Linked DNA regions of Homo sapiens: all the other regions are linked to region 1. The links are contacts of gene promoters, found by promoter capture Hi-C in human tissues and cell types (Jung and others, 2019). All regions are on one chromosome and are shown on one strand. The core of a region is centred on a gene start or on the middle of the fragment in contact, and the rest is flanking DNA. Distances in the headings are between cores, read along the strand shown.

What was found. Contacts are between HindIII fragments. The study calls those that stand out against the background at their distance.
Region 2: a contact is called between a fragment that was not itself captured here and the fragment with the promoter of DNAJC5B in region 1, in 1 of the 25 tissues and cell types used here (mesenchymal stem cells).
Region 3: a contact is called between a fragment that was not itself captured here and the fragment with the promoter of DNAJC5B in region 1, in 2 of the 25 tissues and cell types used here (aorta and thymus).

Annotation. Positions count from the first base shown.
Region 1 is chr8:66,020,202-66,024,014 of GRCh38, forward strand. DNAJC5B (DnaJ heat shock protein family (Hsp40) member C5 beta) reads left to right here and starts at 1,352. Exons shown (of 6, transcript NM_033105.6): 1 at 1,352-1,504. LOC105375883 (a long non-coding RNA gene) reads right to left here and starts at 1,280. Exons shown (of 7, transcript XR_929008.3): 1 at 1,223-1,280; 2 at 822-1,032. The HindIII fragment of the contact is 3,729 bases long and covers 1-2,353 here.
Region 2 is chr8:66,341,599-66,345,850 of GRCh38, forward strand. All of the region lies in intron 1 of LOC102724687 (a long non-coding RNA gene), which reads right to left. Among named protein-coding and RNA genes, the nearest start is that of RRS1-DT, 85 kb to the right of the region's middle. The HindIII fragment of the contact is 4,941 bases long and covers 179-4,252 here.
Region 3 is chr8:66,370,243-66,374,441 of GRCh38, forward strand. All of the region lies in intron 1 of LOC102724687 (a long non-coding RNA gene), which reads right to left. Among named protein-coding and RNA genes, the nearest start is that of RRS1-DT, 57 kb to the right of the region's middle. The HindIII fragment of the contact is 6,849 bases long and covers 1-4,199 here.

The DNA.
Region 1 (3,813 bases), core at 102-2,601:
CACAACTTCTCTAAGCTATAATTTTCTCATCCAGAAAATTATACTGAAAATAATACTTTGTTTATCTCACCAAGTTGTGAAGATTAAATAGAGTGATATGTGTGAAAATAGCTTGTAAATGAAGCATGATGTAAAATGTTATTGGTATTATGAAAGCCCAATATATGTTCTCCTCTTGAGAGATTCTTAAAGCACAATTCTCTGACTTCACAGATACGTCGTCTGATGCAATACAGATACTTTTTAGTATCATATGGGGTTAGCGTCTAGAAAAAGTGAAGGGTATGAAATAATGAAGAATGAAATTCCAGTGAGACTCTATTTCTTTACAGATTGCTCCTCCCTGTCCCTTACTCAACACTAGAACCTGGTATAGCGCTGTAATCAATACTCTGTGTGTGTGTGTGTGTGTGTGTGTGTGTGTGTGTGTGTGTGTGTGTGTGTGTGTGTGTTTTAGACAAGGTTTCATTCTGCCGTCCAGGCTGGAGTGCAGTGGTGCAATCTCAACTCATTGCAGCTTCGATATCTTGGGTTTAAGCGATCATCCCCTGTCAGCCTCCTGAGTAGTTAGAACTACAGGCACGCACAACTACGCCCAGCTAATTTTTGTATTTTTTGTAGAGATAGGGTCTCACTATATAGCTCGGGCTGGTCTCAAACTCCTGGGCTCAAGTGATCCTCCCACCTCAGCCTCCCAAAGTGCTGGGATTACAGGCATGAGCCATCTCGCCCTGCCAACACTAACTCTGGACTTTCATTTGAGCTTTGCTGCTTATCATCAAATCTCAATGAAAACATTAGTTGCTCAGAAGTCACCTTACTTGTTAATCTAGAAATGGTCTGGTGGCTCAGGATTTCTGAGTCTGGGCTGGGACCAGAGCCAGCTACTCCTGGCACCTGTGTTGCTGGGGAAACATGATCTTCACTGAGACTCTGTTCTCTTCCCATAATGTACATTATCCAAATGGTCTCTTGTTGTGGGTGGATTCGGGTAAAAATTGTCTTCACCACGTGGGGCCTCAGTTTCCTCATCTGCAAAAAAAAAGGAGTTAGATGAGAATCTGGTCACTAGCCGGTCTTCTAGGTCTCTCCCCACAGTTAAGATCCCATAATTCTGCAGGTCAGTTTATGACCTGCAAAGGGATTCTTCCCTGAGGGCCCTCACAAGGTTTTGAATGGCAGAGCAAATGGAAATGGGGGAATGTCCTTCCCAACCTCCCACCATGGGCAGGAGAGGAAGTGTTGTCCAAGAGGGCCTCAGCTGGACCATCTGGAGGAGTGAGGATTCCACTCTGTGACATCACAATATCCAGCCCAGGTTTGACCTTGACAACTGGGAAGGAGAAATAACAGGAGGCGCAGTTACTGATATAGCCAAGGTGGGACACTACTGGAGGGAGCTAGAAGGGATCAGCCAGCCATGCCTCCAGTTCAGGTACTTGGCATTGCTAAGCTCAGAACAGGACTTGCCAGTGTCTAGATGAAAAAGAGGAGAGATCTCAAGGTGAGTGTGTCTCCAAGCTTAAGAAGAATAGTATAAGCACAGACGGCTTGTGCCCCAGCTGCGTTAGGGTAATGTAAGGTTCCACACGAGCAGAAGCAGAGCTGGGCGCATCTTGCCAACAGCCAGGCTGCTTGCCATGAAGCCGGACGGTGAGGACATTTCCGAGGCTGTAGTCCACTTGTGCTGCTGGTGATATATTTCTATTTAGAGGTTTTTTTCTTTCAATAGCTCCTCCCCGGATGACAGGGTAGAGTAAACAAAAATAAGTTAACTAAGGAAGTATTTTAATAGAAGCCAGTACAAAAACAAACAAAAGTAATAAAAGGTGCAAAGTTGTATTATGGGTTAGCAAGCAAGACTGACTCTAAGGTCAAGTTTTGAAAGTTCAAATCTTGAAAGGCAAAAGGATACCCCTATAAAGAGTAAAAGAGAAGGGCCTTTTGGTTGAGAAGTAAGTAAAACAGCTCTGCTGGAACATATACCGGACCCCCCACCCCGCCCCCAGCAACTCCTGCCAGTGAAATCATTGCTGGGGATGCGGACAGTTCTGTTTTCTTTACCTTGCCTTGGGGTTTTGGCTTCTACAATACTTGTTTCTTCCTGGAGTCTTGGGGCCCTGAGAGGCTCTGAGTGACGGCAAAGAACTGTTCTGTTTACCAGTGGGGCGGAGCATGGGGCCAGCGCCAGGCCCTGACTCATCCCCATGTGGACTCCCTTGGGTCTTAGCACACTGCGACCCCGGAGTTGGAGCACAGGACAGCTCAGGCAGGCACGCTGAGCTCTGCCTGCAAGGTCAGAGTTGATGGCGATGCTCCCTCAGTGGGAGTAAGAGTCCATGTTCTGACAGGTAGGTCAGTTACCCACAGGGGACCCCAACAGCCATCGACAAGAAGAGGAGGAGATGGATTCTCTATCCACAGGACACAACTCTAACTCTCCTTGGCCTCCAACACATCACGAATAAATATATCACAGCAGTAAGGTCAATACTCTCACACTCTATGAAAGTAGTAATAGTCCCCAAAGCATGTAAAACTGAGAGATCCAGATAAAAGCAAAATATACTTGCACATAAACTTCATAGCACACATTCAACTTCTGTACAGAAGTCACTGTGATTTTCACAATTAGGTTATGATCTAATCATAACCACTTAAGACTTGAACATTAAAATCTCATTGGCCCAGTTTTTAGGCTTCCTTCATTGATAGCCATTGAAAACTAAGTTTAAGCTGAACCTCAGATAATACCCACAAAACACAGAATGTCCTAACTCATCTCCATTTGCATTTGTTGACTGTAACGTTCCCTGATCCTTGTGTTAGTCACATGCTGCTGCAGCCTGTCGCATACTGCAGAATTTTAGAGTCGGAGGGGAACTAGAAGATCATCCATTCCACAGCTTCGTTTCCAGGAGAAACCACACAGAGAAGTGTCTCAGCTAAGGGTATCAAGCTAGTTAGTGCTGGGGACTAAAGTTTAAGCCCCCTCACTCTTAGCCTGGTGGCCTCTCCAATACACTCTGCCCCACAATGAATGAATGTATTGGTTCATATTTGAACTAACTCTTTGATTTTCTAAGTTAGAATATTCTAAAAGGAGGAAATCTCATTTATCACCTTGGTGTGGTTATTGGTAAAAGCAGATATTCTCCTAGCCTCTGCACCTCCATACAAGATAAGCTTTGGTCAATGACAAGAAAAAGCACTGAAGACCCCATTCAAAACACTGAGATAACAGTGAAAATAAAACCAGGGAAATTGACTAGCTACTGTAAATTGAGGGCTGATTAGAAGTAATCCTTTTTTTCTTAAAAAAACATGTATACAATTTACCAGATTTTTACTTTATAATAAATATACGGTCTTCCTGTGGCCTTGTCTTTTCCTGTTTAGGTAGATAATACTTTGTTTATGAATGTGTGTGTGTATACCCTTGAATGTACAGATGAGTAAACACTTTATCTGGCAGGTGTGGGGCTGGCTATTACATCCATCCGTGGTATCCGACCTACACTTACTTACCTAATATATCTTCTATATGAGCCTTCTGTGACTTATCCCATGAATTAATATTCTATTTGGAATTAACATGATAGTGTAGGAGGAGCCTCCTTAGACTTGTCCAGGGTTTGACATACATGAAGCTATATATGTCTTGCATCCGTAATTAATCTGCAAGTTTGAGCCCAGGCAGTCCCTGGGTGCAGGTAGTCAGCGTTTTTCCAATTAAATTTATTGCAAATGTACTAATATCAGCCCAAAGATCCAAATTCTGAAAGAAAATGAAATGAAATGAAGAATTTTTAA
Region 2 (4,252 bases), core at 1,399-3,898, 320 kb after region 1:
GTTCCAAAGTGTGATAGCACTAAAGATTGAAGACAGAAGTAAATATGAAAAACCCAACTGTCTTCTATTAAGCTGAAGGGGAGAAAGCAATAATTTTCACAAAACTTTTAAGTCTGTAGTGGGCGAAACTGCCTTTGCAAAGATTATGACAGTGAGAGAGTTTAGCATGGCTGACCCCGTCCTGCTTCTAGCCTCACAAGCTGGCTGTCCTTACTCATTCCAATAACCCAAGCTAACCATGGGAGGAATTTAGTTTATAGTTTAACTTTCAATCAAGGATAACAATAGTCCCTCCCCAAAACTAACCCCTTCCTTGCTCAGGGACTGAAACCTCCTTTGTAAAACTAATGAAAGGCCACAAGATTAGGATTATGGGAGGGACCTGAATTCTGCTAAAATCTATGCATGGTTAAATGATAACTAGTCATTGCTTGCTGCTGTAAGTTTCCTAATCGCCCCAATAGAAAACATTGTCATTGTAAAACTTAAGACTAGCATTTGAGATATTTTTCAGACTTTTGCATTTAGACAGACCAACTGATGCCACCCAAACCCTCCAAGACCTGTGACTCAATCAGTCCCATAATCTCCCTCTAGAAACCGACTCACAGCATGAATATAGTTCCAACACTCCTATGATTTTATCCCCAACCCATCAGCAGTGCCCATTTCCTAGACCCTGCCCACCAGAGTATCCTTAAAAATCCTAGCCTCCAAGCTTTTGAGCTTTCAGGGTGGCTGATTTGAGTAATAAACTCTCGTCCTCCTGTTTGGCAGGCCCTGTGATAATTAAACTCTTTCTCTACTGCAACACTGTTTTCTTGGTACATTGGCTTTGTCTGTGCAGCAGGCAAGAAGAACCCATCGGGCAATTACACTGGGACAGTTTCCTGTTAATAAACAGCAGAATAACAAGAAAGAAAAAAAAAACAAGTGTTTCTATCTACATGTGCTGTGCTCATAACACAGGAGAAACTTCAGTTCAAAAGTATCTCACAAAATGATGGGTCAAGGTCCCAGCTTATATAGCATCTCTAACAAACAACAATACATTTAGAAGTGAGAAGACAAAGGCATAAACAGCTTCAGGCTCCCAAAAGGTGGGAAAACAATGGGAATGTGGTAAAGTCTGCTCCCAGATTTTTCTGCCTCGAGTGGCATCAGTCTCTGAGCTAATCAGGCAGAAAGGGGTGAAAGAAGCGCCCCCTGCATATTTTTCACAAGAATTTTTACGGCCTGACACATGTGAGAAAGGAAAGTTCAGAGAGTCCTTTTTTATAATTGCTGCTTCCAAATTGTCTCTAGCTCAAAAATGTTTATGTCAAAGAGGCATATTTGGCGATGAAGTTCTCTGGTTTCCTTCAATGCCAAACATAAAGCTGAGAAATAAAAATAAAATCCTAAGCTCCCCAACCAACTCTTTTTGGCCCAGAGTAACCTTGAAAACTGAGTTCTCAGCCATGATAGGATAGGAGGTCAGACAAGCCTCTTGTTATACCCCCTCCCTCACAACTAGAATTATACTTTCTTCCCTAAGGGCTAAACAGAAGCCAACCCTTTCAAAAGATTCCACTGGCACAGTGGCAAACATCTGTAATCCCAGAAATTTGGGAGGCCAAGGAGGGAAGATTGCTTGAGCCCAGGAGTTCAAGACCAGCCCGGGAGACATGGAGAACCCTGTCTCTACAAAAACCTAGCTGGGCATGGTGGCACATACCTGTAATCCCAGCTACTCAGGAGGCTGATGTAGGAGGATAGCTTCAGCCCAGGAGGCAGAGGCTGCAGGGAGCTATGATCAGCCGCTGTACTCCAGCCTGGTGACAGAGCAAGACCATGTCTTAAAAAAAAAAAAAAAAAGGACTCCACCACTGCTTTAACCAACTGCCTGACGCTGCCCCTCCTTTTGTTGTTTTGGCATACCAACCAACAGCATTTCTTCCTGCTAAGAGACCACTGACCACGGAGCGGTTCTGGCCAGCCTATAGAGAATGCATAGTAAAGGTTTTTGTGTCCTCTGCCTCGCCTTTTGACATCAGAGGGCCAAAAATTCCACCATCAGATCATCCTAACACCGCCATGTTTTGTACATGGGACCCATGAATGAGGCATGAAGCTCAATTGCACATGTGCACATTTCTCCTTTCATAAATATTCATGACTCCTCCTCTGTCTTATATATGTTATATATATTAAGCCATTCCCCTTAGCATAACTTCCTGCTTCCTTTGCTCCTCCCTCGAGGTGTCTGTCCAGCTTCTTACTGAAGGCTATGCTTCCCAGCCTGTCAGAATGGCCCCCCTGCAGGTTGCAACGCTTTATGAGAAATAAAGCTCTCCTTTTCAAATTTATGACTCTTATTCTTCAGCTGACAAAGTGGCAAAAATGTAAAACAAGGCAACTCCTCTCACAAATTTGTATTTGGACAAATATAGTTAGATTTCACAGAAATGGGTTAACTATATTAACACAAAATGAGTTTTTTATTATTAAGATGAATGCATGTGTAACTTTTTAAATTTCTCAATTTTAATTTCAATATTATAAATATCAATAGATATAACTCACATCAACAAAAGCAGAGAGACTCAATTGTTTGTAAGAGTGGACTAAGGTCTTAAGACAAAAAGTTTGAAGACTGCTGCCCTAGTGTAATGCCCAGCAAAATGGAATTTTAAATATTCTTTATGGAAAGAATCATCATTTGGAAATTGCCAGTTGTTGTTTGGTTTTTGATAGTAGTGACACTGAGTTGTCCTGAAGCCTTGCTTATTTCTGGACAAGTCACCAAAATGGCCCCTTGAGTCACTCAACAAACACGCTAGCACCAGGGCCCCACTCCCTGTCCCCACACACATTCCATTAATGGATTAAGCTTGAAGGTTGCCTGAGGGGTGGATAAGTTTGCATAAGAAGCCCAGGGGCTTTGTGAAAAAGAAGGAATTGGGAAATCCATCTCATTTGCTTCCTGCTTTGAAGTTGCCATACTTATGGAAGTTATGAAAGTTAGGAAAGCAGTACCCTCAGGGTCACCCTGGTGTTAGGGCTCAGATGGTCAAAGGGAATCTCACCAGGCCGTAGAGGCAGCTAACCACAGGGAAGTGCCTGTTGATCCATGAACAGACTAAAAAAGCCACATCATTAAAGGAAGTTCTCATTGAGATCCTTGGGCTACTTAGGCATGAGGCTTCCATGAGTGAAGGAGGCACTACTCTCCCACCCTGCCTGAGTCAGTACTGCCAAAGCAGCAGTGGCAGTGCCAGCAGGCTTTGTATGTGGCAACCTCCACACCACCTCACTTTCTGCAGCAGACAGCCCTTGAATGACCCTACCAGATGCCCACGCCGGGGCAGTGACAGTGTGCTTAGGGTACTGAACACTTAACTCTCTCCAAGGCAAAATGAACCAAGGCTCACAGCCTGGATTAAATCACTGGGAATCAGGAACTGGTCACAGGAGGGCTCACCTCCCACCCTCACCTCAGACCCAGAACCTCCTACTCAAAAGTCAGATCAGGCCTCAGGTGTACCAATTAGGGGTGACATCTGAGTCTCTATGGGTGACATTGTTTGCACTCTAAACTGATGACATCAGACATCTCATTTTCAGCTTCATTCCTGTGGTAGGCAGAATAATCTCCCCCTTCCCCAGAAAATGTCCACATCCTAATCCCTGGAATCTGTGAATATGTCACCTTACATGACAAAGGGACTTTGCAGATGTGACTAAGTTTGAAGCTCCTAAACCAATAAGACTATCTTGGCAGACCCTTAAAAGTAGAGACCCTTTCCAACTGCGGAGAGAGAAAGACAGGATGACAGAAGGAGGTGCAGAGAGAGGCAACAAGAGGAAGGCTCTGCCAGCCACACGGAGGAAGGGGCCATGGGCCAAGGACACTGGAAAAGGGATAGAAACAGATTCTCCCCCGGGGCCTTCAGAACTGAAAGTAGTTCTGCCAACAGCTTGATTTTAGCTCTGTGGGACCCACATTGGAACTTCTGACATCCCAGAACTGTAAGATAATAAATTTGTATTGTTTAAGCTGTTAAGTTTGTGTTAAATTGTCACAGCAACACTAGAAAACAAATACAATTACAAAAAAAAAAATACAATTACCAATCAGTGCCTTGCCTTGCTCAAAGCGAATTCCTAAACTCTGAGAATTGTGTGTGGAAGTAACTAGAAGGGACCAGCTGAGCCCAGGTAAATGGACGTCTCTGGAGCGGCTGAATGCTGGGATCCCATCAGCAGGAGA
Region 3 (4,199 bases), core at 749-3,248, 350 kb after region 1:
TCCCTTTTGAAGATGTCTCCAGATTGACACCCTAGCTAAAACTATCCACAGAACTTATACCCTTTGATAAGCTCCAGGGAGAAACAAAAGCCTTCCAAATTCCAGGACAATGGAATTGTTATTTTGGGCTTTTCTTTCAGTGTCATTTCACTGTATTAGATAGATAAATGAGATGGCCTAATTATGGGTTAAAAATCATAGATATCACACCTGTAATCCCAGCACTTTGGGAGGCCAAGGCAGGCAGATCACCTGAGGTCAAGAGTTTGAGATCAGCCTGGCCAACATGGTGGAACCCCATCTCTACCCAAAAAAAACAAATACAAAAATTAGCTGGACCTAGTGGAGCACACCTGTAGTCCCAGCTACTCAGAAGGCTCAGGCAGGAAAATCGCTTGCACCCAGAAGGGGAGATTGCAGTGAACCGAGATTGTGCCACTGCACTCCAGACTGGGCGAAAGAGCGAGACTCTGTCTCAAAAAAAAAAAAGTGAAGGACACATGTAGATCCTCAAATTGTTTCTTCTAATCATCAAATTAGGATTTCTGTTAACTTTAAGTTACAAATCATGAGCAATTATATATGCATAATGAAACTATGAATACAAGCCTATAATCATAGCAGAACTGAGAAATATAAACATCCATGCACATTCAAATAATTACATTGTTGATCTTGATCATTTGAAATTCTGTATCAACAGAGGCATGTCTTTCTGGGTCAAAAAGCTAGATATAGAAAAAGGGAACTCCTAGGGACAGGATTTATGCTTTTCCCAATGCCTGATACCATACTTGGCATATGCTAGATGCTCAAGAAATAATCACTGGACAAATGAATTAATTAGTGAAAATTATATCTCTATCTTTCCTCTACTCCCAAATTCCATCACAAACTGGATGGCTCATTGCTACCTTAAACTCAACAAGATTCAACCCAGGCCAGGCATGGTAGCTCACAGCTGTAATCCTAACACTTTAGGAGACCAAGGCATGTGGATCACCTGAGATCAGAAGTTTGAGACCAGCCTAGACAACATGGCAAAACCCCATCTCTACGAAAAATACAGAAGCTAGCCAGGCATGGTGGTTCATGCCTGTAATCCCAGCTACTCAGGAGGCTGAGGCAGGAGAATTACTTGAACCTAGAGAAGTGGAGGTTGCAGTGAGCCAAGATCGCACCACTGCACTCCAGCCTGGGTGACAGAGTGAGACTCTGTCACACACACACACACAAAAAATCCTTTTTTCATGATTTTCTATTTCTATCAATTTTCTGAGTCACCCAAGCTCAAGTCTGCATTTGGTTTTTCATCTCATACTTAGTCACTTTCTATCAGTTACCAATTCCTATTGATGGTTTTTAAAGGGTAAACCTCACATCTGTTCCTTCTTTTTTCATTCATTCCACTGTTGACCATCTAAGAACATGAACCAATGTTTCTCCTTATGTCTGTGATCATTTTGCTCCCTGGGGCATAGGGAGGTGCTTCCTTCATGAGATGAACTGTCTAAACATTTTAGCCTAGCATGTTCAGCATGACCAGAACAGACACCACATGATCAGATCCAGAATTACCTTTCCAGCCCTAATCTGTACAGGTATGTTACATATACTTTATTTCCTGATTCCTCTGGATTAGTTGTCCCCCTCTCCAGACTCTGCTGCTTTACTCGAGCCTGGAGAGTCTTATGTACCCTTGATATCCAGCTCAAATATTTCCTCATCCATAAGTCCTCAGTGACTGCCATCCAGAGTAAGCACATCCTTGTCTTAATCTGCTCAAGCTGCTATAACAAAATGCCTTAAACTGGGTAATTTATAAACAACAGAAATTTATTGTCCACAGTTCTGGAGACTGGAAGTCCAAGATCAAGGTGCCAGCAGATTCAGTGTCTGGTGAAGGCCTTTTCCTCATAGATGTGTCCTCACATAGGAGAAGGGGAAACAGGCTCTTTCAAGCCTCTTTTTTTTTTTTTTTTTTTTTTTTGAGACGGAGTCTTGCTGTTGCCCAAGCTGCTGGATGCAGTGGCATGATCTCAGCTCACTGCAACCTCCACCTCCCAGATTCAAGAGATGCTCGTGCCTCAGCCTCCCGAGTAGCTGGGACTATAGGTGTGCACCAACATGTCCATTAATTTTTGTATTTTTAGTAAAGATGGAGTTTCACCACATTGGCCAGGCTGGTCTCAAACTCCTGGCCTCAAGTGATCTGCCCACCTCGGCCTCCCGAAGTGCTGGGATTACAGGCATGAGCCACCATGCCTGGCCCAAGCCTCTTTTACAGTTGCACTAATCCCATTCATGAGTGTGGAACCCTTATGACCTAATCACTTCCTAAAGGCCCACCTCTTAATGTCACCAAATTGGGGATTTGGTTTCAACGTGAATTTTGAAGAGACATAAAATTCAAACCACAGCACCCCTCCATAAATTCCCAGACTACTTAAATCAAGTCTCTCTTAAGAAACTTACCACATTTGACTTTGCATTTTTAAAGATTATGCACTTATTTTGATCATCCTCACTAGGTCATAAATTCATCTACTTGTTAAAAAACACGCATAGAATACTTATTGTGCTCAAGGAACTGGGATAGACAGTGATGCTTCAGCAATGAAGAAGACAGTCACAGTCTCTTCCCTGATGAAGCTTCCTTTGCAGCAAAAGAAATGGGAATTTTCAAAAAACCGTAAAAAAGCCAGAGCAAATGAAGGAGAAAGTAAATGAGGCAAATGCAGAAATGTGGACAGAACCTGCCTATGAAGGGGCCTTGTAGGTTATGATAAAGAATGTAGTATTCTTCTCAATGTGCAGGAAGCCATTGATGGGCTTTCTGCAGAGGAAAGACATATTGGGCTTGGGTTTGTCAGAGGCTTCACTGGCTGCTATGTGGAGAAGAGGCTGTAGAGAAACTAGTTAAGCAGACTACTCGCATATCTAGGCAAATATCAATCGTGGCTTACTCTAGAGTGGTAACAGTGAAGATGCAGAAAAGTAGAGGCATCAGAGGTACTCTCTAGAGATAAAGCCTGCAGAATTTGTTCACGGATTGAACGTAGGAGAAAGGAAAACAAGAATTAAGATTGAGTCCTAGCTTTTTGACCTGAGCAACTCTGTGGATGCCATTTACTGAGTAGAATATGTTGAAGAAAGAACCAAGGTGATGAGTGATGAATAGAGAGGCTTGAGCATGTTTGAATGCTGATGGAAATCAGCCATTGGAGAGAAGGCGAGTGAAGATACAGGGTAAAGAAGGAATCAATCTTTAGTGGGCCCCAGAGTTGCAAAGTCTGGGCTACCTGCCAACATGGGCACTTAGGGGCTAAGTGTCACTAAGTTCATGGAACCTTAGACCATACACTTCGGCCAGTCAGGATGGAGGGAACACTGGGTTATACATGCATGAAAGAGAGGATGAGTCTGTTCAATGACCACAATTCTCAATCCTAATCTTGACATCTTTCAGAAGCAACACTAAAGGAAGAAATTTTAGAACATTTTTTGTCACTGTTCTCTATCCAGCCCTCTCAAAAAAGAAATCTTCCCTGGAAAAAAGGTAGGTTGCAAAGCAGTATGCATTGAGCAACCTGCAAACATACACACTCTCATGCATGTGTGTGCACACGCACACACACACTTTATACATATTTGTAAATAATTGAGGACTGCTATTAAAATGTAAATGTCAGTATCTTGATGATTGGATTATAATTAATTTTTTCACTGTATGCACTTCATAAATTTTCTACAATTAATATGCCATTTTTGTATTAAGAAAAAAACTAATAAATTTTTTTGTTAGTATTTATTAGTAAATTTAATAAATGAACTTATTGGATAAATATCTCAGCTCTCAGCCACACCCACATTTTGTGTGATTCTTCAAGAAGGAAGAGACTGGCACAGGCAGCTGTGTGGTCTGACTCAAGGCATCAGATCTGTCCAGTTTGCTGGTCTCCCCTCCCTACAAGGAGTATGCACGTCCTCCCCAAGTCACTTGCTGCAGTCCCAGCCTCTGTCCTCTACCTGCAAGAGTCCAGTCAGGGTGCCCACTGCCATTTCTCAGATCATCATTTATAATTTTTTATTTTGTATGTCTTAATATGTATTATGTTTAAAATTCAAAAATACAACAGATAGATAGTGAAAACTTCTTCTCACACCACCCTTGTTACCCAAACACCCAGCTCCCCTTC